2 separate regions of the Homo sapiens genome follow, and region 2 is linked to region 1. Evidence: promoter capture Hi-C in 16 types of primary human blood cells and fetal thymus (Javierre and others, 2016). All regions are on one chromosome and are shown on one strand. Each heading gives the region's core, a stretch centred on a gene start or on the middle of the fragment in contact. The rest is flanking DNA. Distances are from core to core; before and after follow the strand shown.

Evidence for each region. Contacts are between HindIII fragments. The CHiCAGO score rates a contact against its expected background, and 5 or more counts as called.
Region 2: a contact is called between a fragment that was not itself captured here and the fragment with the promoter of GRSF1 in region 1, in 1 of 17 cell types (monocytes). The highest score is 5.2, in monocytes.

Annotation. Positions count from the first base shown.
Region 1 is chr4:70,838,310-70,841,392 of GRCh38, reverse strand. GRSF1 (G-rich RNA sequence binding factor 1) reads left to right here and starts at 1,503. Exons shown (of 10, transcript NM_002092.4): 1 at 1,503-1,922. The coding sequence starts at 1,566. LOC124900710 (a long non-coding RNA gene) reads right to left here and starts at 2,401. Exons shown (of 3, transcript XR_007058131.1): 1 at 2,248-2,401. RefSeq lists silencers at 1,236-1,485, 1,546-2,095 and enhancers at 1,492-2,145, 2,146-2,800. The HindIII fragment of the contact is 9,073 bases long and covers 1-2,960 here.
Region 2 is chr4:71,259,663-71,262,909 of GRCh38, reverse strand. All of the region lies in intron 3 of SLC4A4 (solute carrier family 4 member 4), which reads right to left. Among named protein-coding and RNA genes, the nearest start is that of SLC4A4, 74 kb to the right of the region's middle. The HindIII fragment of the contact is 1,172 bases long and covers 812-1,983 here.

The sequences.
Region 1 (3,083 bases), core at 254-2,753:
GCAAATCTCTGTGTGTTCACTTGTGAATACAGTTTCATTAGGGGAGGGTTCACCTTTGTTATGTATTATCAGTACATAATAAATATATATGTTTTCTTTTATTTTTTTAGAGACAGGGTTTCACTCTGTCACCCAGGCTGGAGTTCAGTGGTGGCAATCATAGCTTACCACAGCCTCTACCTTCTGGGCTGAAGCAATCGGCCTCCCAAGTAGCTGGGACTACAGGCCCACGCCATCACACCCAGCTTTATTTATTTTTTGTATAGACGGGGTCTCCCTATGTTGCCCAGGCTGGTCTGGAACTCTTGGGCTCCAGTGATCCTCTCACTTCAGCCTCCCAAAGCGCTGGGATTATAGGCATGAGCCACCACGCCAGGCCTATATTTCATTTTAAAACAACGAAGTTCTCCTTCCTCACATACCTCAAATTCGGGGGGTACCAAATCTCTGATATTATCCCAACGATTTTTTTATAACCAAGGTATCACAATTCCTTTCAGAAAGGGTTCTTTAGCCACTCACACCACGGGTTTCGGTGGCACAGCGCAGGGCAGCACAGACTTGTGCTACAGCTCTCGGCCCTACCCAGAGCAGGATGGCCCTAACCTAATTTTTTTGTTTGTTTGTTTGGAGATGGCGTCTCACTCTGTCGCCCAGGCTGCAGTGCGGTGGCACGATCTTGGCTCACTGCAACCTCCGCCTCCTGGGTTCAAGCGATTCTCCTGCCTCAGCCTCCTGAGTAGCTGGGATTACGGGCACCCGTCACCACACCCGGCTAATTTTTGTGTTTTTAGTAGAGACACAGTTTCACCATGTTGGCCAGGCTGGTCTTGAACTGCTGACCTCAGGTGATCCGCCCTACCTCGGCCTACTAAAGTGCTGGGATTACAGGCGGGAGCCACCGCGTCCGACCTAATTTTTTGTATTTTAGTAGAGACGGGATTTCACCGTGTTGCCTAGGTTGGTCTCGAACTCCTGACCTCAGGCAGTCCACCCGCCTCTGCCTGCCAAAGTGCTAGGATTACAAGAATGAGTCACTACGAATGAGTCACTGCGCCAGGCCCCTAGCCTCACTTACTTTGGGCCTCAGTTTCCACCGCCTGAAAAAAGAGCAGTTCGATTGCACCCACTTCCCCGGGCCCCGCCCAAACCATGGGCAGCCCCGCCCAAACCATGGGCAGCCCCGCCCAAACCATGGGCAGCCCCGCCCAAACCATGGGCAGCCCCGCCCAAACCATGGGCAGCCCCGCCCAAACCATGGGCAGCCCCGCCCAAACCATGGGCAGCCCCGCCCAAACCATGGGCAGCCCCGCCCAAACCATGGGCAGCCCCGCCCAAACCATGGGCAGCCCCGCCCAAACCATGGGCAGCCCCGCCCAAGGGCGGAGACTGGGCGGAGCGTCGCGCTCTCCTCCACCTCCTTCCGACTCTCGGAGGCCCCCCACCCAGTGCCCGCGGCGCATGTGCCAGGCACACCCCACCCCCAACCGGCCCTGGATTCCACTTCCGTTCCACCATCGCTGCTGGAGCAGCTGCCTTCAGGCCCTGCGCCGCCTCCGGAGTCCATGGCCGGCACGCGCTGGGTACTCGGGGCGCTGCTCCGGGGCTGCGGCTGTAACTGCAGCAGCTGCCGGCGCACCGGCGCCGCCTGCCTGCCCTTCTACTCCGCCGCTGGCTCTATCCCGTCGGGCGTCTCGGGCCGCCGCCGCCTGCTGCTGCTGCTCGGGGCCGCCGCGGCCGCTGCCTCCCAGACGCGTGGCCTCCAGACCGGGCCTGTGCCTCCCGGGAGGCTGGCGGGGCCTCCCGCTGTGGCCACCTCTGCCGCGGCCGCGGCCGCCGCGTCCTACTCTGCCCTCCGTGCCTCTCTGCTGCCGCAGTCGCTGGCGGCGGCGGCCGCCGTCCCGACGCGCAGCTACAGCCAGGTACGTGGGCGCCGTGAGGGACCTGGCGCGAGATCCCTCCCGGGCCGCGTGCACGCGCCCCCGCGCCCCTCCGTCCCTCCGTGTGCGCCTCGCGGGCACGCCCGGGGATCCGCGACACTCGCCGCACACCCGCCCCCGTCCACCCTGTGCTCCTATTGGGCCCTGGAACAAGGGAAGCTCTCCCAGGCGTCGGGTCTTCTGCTTGTTTTGTTCTCGCCTCGAGTCTCTGGTCGGTTGGGCAGTGTAAGTGTGGCTGGGGTGAATGTTGAGGCCTTGTTCCCCGCCTGGCCCATGGTAGGTTTCGTGAGGCTGCTGACGCCCCCACCTCGCATCTTCTTGCTTTCCGCCGGCTGGTTGTGAAGTTGCGAGGCCCGAGCCCGCCGGAGGGTTGGGAGTTTCCGTGCAGCCCGAGCGCTAGGCCTGGGCGGCCCTCGGCGCCTCTCGGTCGGCCGCTGCTGGGAAGGTGCGCGCACACAGTTGCGTGGGCTGGCTTGTAGGGAAGGAGCCTGTCCCCATCGCGCCGTTCCCTCTCCTGTCCCCAGGGAAAGACGAGCTGTCCCGGTTTACTGAAGGTCACCTCTGCAACTCCACTCATACAGAAGGTCTTTAAGGACTGTGTGTCGCCTCGTCTGGGAAAGCAGTTTGGAGATTTAGCTGTTGGGGGGAGGGGGTGAATGGGAGGGAGCGTTGAGGGTTGAGGACACAACTTGGGGTCCCAGGAATGAATTTGCAATGTTTTCCTTTCCATTTTTTCTTTATTTTTTTAGAAAAGTCGGTGTGTAGTTAGATTGCAAATATTTTGTGCTTTGTAGATGAACCTTTCTCTTCTTGGTACGTGGCATCTGGGAAGTGTCTGCACACTTTTTAACTACCCAGCCCCTGATTCCTTAGGTCATATTTATCTTAATTCAATTTGTGCTTCTCCTTTAACTTAGGGAGACTGGGAGGCTAATCAGCATGGCTGCTGTCTGCCAGTGGCTGAGCTAATTGATTTGAATCCTGGCCCAATACTTTACGCTGCCTTTTTCTGTAAAAGCTTGTGATGCTTATGGAATTATGGAAAAATGGGGAAAGTTGTCTACAAAAACCACAACAAAACCATCTCCAGTAAACCTTTGTGAGCTAGCTTCTCTCTTTTTTTTTCTATGAAATTGACTGCGG
Region 2 (3,247 bases), core at 148-2,647, 420 kb before region 1:
TTGTTCACATGTACACTAGAACTTAAAGTATAACAAAAAAAAAAGAATTGTTGGCTAGATACACAAAACAAGGTCATTTTTCTATTCCCAAAGAAATGACACCCGGGGGGAAAGGGGAATAAATACTGTTTGCTAGAAAAAAAAAAAGGATTGTTTGTTTGTTTGTTATTTAATTAAGGAGAGACTATAGAACTAATATTTTAGATGTCTGGCAGCCTTGTCTGAAATAACTCCCTTCTATTTCAAGGATGAACTTAACGCTGAAATTCCAAATAAGAAGTATTGCCTTAGGAATTCAAAGGAAGTGGCAGACATAAGAGAAACTTTGAAGGAAAAACCAACAGCGCTCAGTGCATGGCTGGCTATGGAAGAAAAACAACAGAGAAGGATAAAGGATAACTTGGATCTTGATTCTATATTAACCAGGAAAATGGAGACTCCTTGCTCGCAACACCTCTATAAAAGTGATGAAAAGTCAAGTAAGACTCCTATCCATGGGAAAGTTATTAAAAGAGCCTAACATTCCTGCCTCCAGATTGTGGTCATGGAAGAATTCCGCAGAATTTATTTATAGAGTAGGCCCGTGGTCCCTCACCCCAACTACTTCTGCATTTATGAGTTCACACTCATAAAGCCCTGAATTTAAATCCCTGGTATTAAGAACCCTTGTTCTTTAAGAATTATTTCCTTCTATATGAAAAAATTCCTAAACAGAATACTATTTCAAGAAGACCCTTGCCAATACCTTTCTTTTTTTCAGTGCATTCAAATCACACACACTCACACAAACTCACAAATACACATTCAAGCTTCCTGCCTTGTAAATTTGAATCCCAAACCACAGGATGTGACCTGCCTTCCGCTTAGGTGGTAATGCCTGTGGCAGACAGTCATTTATACCCCATTTACTTCACTAAAGTAAATTTCACACTGAAATTCTGCACAGTATTCTGGTTTCCCCCCATTTTCCACCCTAAGTCACAATCTCTTTTTAGCCCTGAGCACCCCAGCACGTGGAGTACACTAGAACCCTTTGAGGTCTCCTGAACTCATAAGTCACTATAAATAGCAACAACATCAACTCTCCCATGACACGTGTAAACACACTACTCATAACATCTCATGGCATGATAACATGGAATAACTATTAGAATAGAATAGCCAGTGGCAACAAGAAATGAATAGTGTAAAATCTGCCATTTGAAGGGCACTTCAAGGTGACTTCAAGAGAGCTGCATTTCAGAAACTCAAGGCTCTCTAAGAGACTTATGCAGTTAACTGGCTAAAGAAGCAGAAGCACTATGACACAGTCCTCTTGTATTCATCAGCATCACAGAGGAATAAACAACAATTATTTGTACCACACAAAACACAACATTGTTGAGCCAACCCATTGCCATCAAAAACACAAGTATGCCAAATATTTTTCCTTTCTGCACAACACTGCCTCCAAATTGCTGACTTGTCCCACCCAACAGCCCTTCTTAACCAGATTAATTTCACAAAGAAACACAAAGAAAGAGCCAGAAAGAGATCCTTCCTGTAAAAGACAGAACAGTCTATTTGATTTCAGGCATCCAGAACGGGGAATTACAACTGCCGACTAAATTCAAGGACACCCTTGGTACACCAAGCCACTTGCTGGTGGCAGTATTCCACAAAAAAGAGCAGCACAAGAGACAGCACCTCTGCCCCTTGAAGTCCTTGTTCCCTTGGTCCTCTCACCTGCCAGCCAACGTGCAGACTGACACTCACTGGCAAGATAAGAGACTGAATTTAGGTTGCTTCTCTCAAATATGCCGTTAGGAGCCAAGAGCCAAGCCGACAGCTAAAGCAAAAGAACGCCTAGTGAGAATTTGTGGCAGAAAAGACCAGAAGAGCTTAAAGAATAGTGGTTATTGTTTACAAGGAATTAAGCTCTACAGAGTTTTAGCCTCAAGTTTTTGGCATTACCTGTGTATGATGGATAGGAAAAGATAAGCTTGAAGAAGGCAATCATAGTAACTCAAAATAATAACTGCTAACCATTATTGCTGACTACATGCAGTGCTCACTTCATGTTCAGAATACTATGATTAAAATCGATCATCCCCTTTTTACATATGAGGAAACTAGAGCACAAAGAAGTTAAGTAAATAACCAAGGTTACACTGCTGGTATGAACTGGGATTCAAACTCAAGTAATCTGGCTCAAATATGCACTCTTAACCACTCTGATATGCTCCCTTTCCAGCAAAATTACAACACAAGTGTCCCTTCTGAAAAGGCAAACTGTAAGTTTTAAAACATTTTTTAATATAAAAAGCTTTTGTACTCAGACCTAAAGACAAAGTACTTCCTCCTACTTATATAAGGTGAAAAATAGAGAAGGGGATGAAAGAGATGGTATAGTTTTATTGTGTTTGTGTTTTGTTTTTTAAACTGGGACAGGTCTACCTCATTTTCATACATTTCCAAAGCCTTTTCTCCTATATATAGATCGATTTTTGAGAATACCAATGGCATGTAGAAAATTAAAGAAACCTTATTTTATGGTATCAAAATTAAGGATCTTGCCTGAAAACATTTTAAAAATCAAGAAAAAGTACAAATGTACCAAGAAGTATGAGGTCAGGTTGGGAGGGGTGTGCACTGGGAAAAGGGGAAGTCAAATGACACAACACCAAATATTCTTGGCTCTTATGAAAAGCTACTCTGTTCATTTACCCGGAAGCACCAAACAAAAGCAGCTGCCCATTTCTCTGTTTCAGTTTCCTGAATATAACTGGATCACCAACCAGCATCCATTGTCCCAGGCTCACAGAACAATGTTCACTAGCATAAATCCATCAGTTCTGGTACACATCCAAAAAGCTAAAAAAGAATACCACAAGACTGAATGAGTGTCTGTATGGACATACCTAGCGCTATGATTCCACAACGGGCAAGACCTGTGTGTGAGAGGCAGTTAGCACCTCCAAGCATGAATGCATGTTCATGCTTGTCAAGAAATATCTTACACATCAGATCAAAATGCTGAACACGATGTTCTGTTTGTAGCTTTGTTTCCTACCATCTTACACATCTTCAGGATCTCTACAGTCACAAAGTAGCCTGTGATGCCCCCATAAGTATCCCTGGACACTAACAAAATGGGAGGCACAGAGGCCAAAACCATGTAGGCTGGGAAGGTATGCTGTGTTTCCAAAGCCTATCTCAGCCAGGACCACCTTCCCACCCACTTTTTGGGCAACCCTCAGAGGATGGC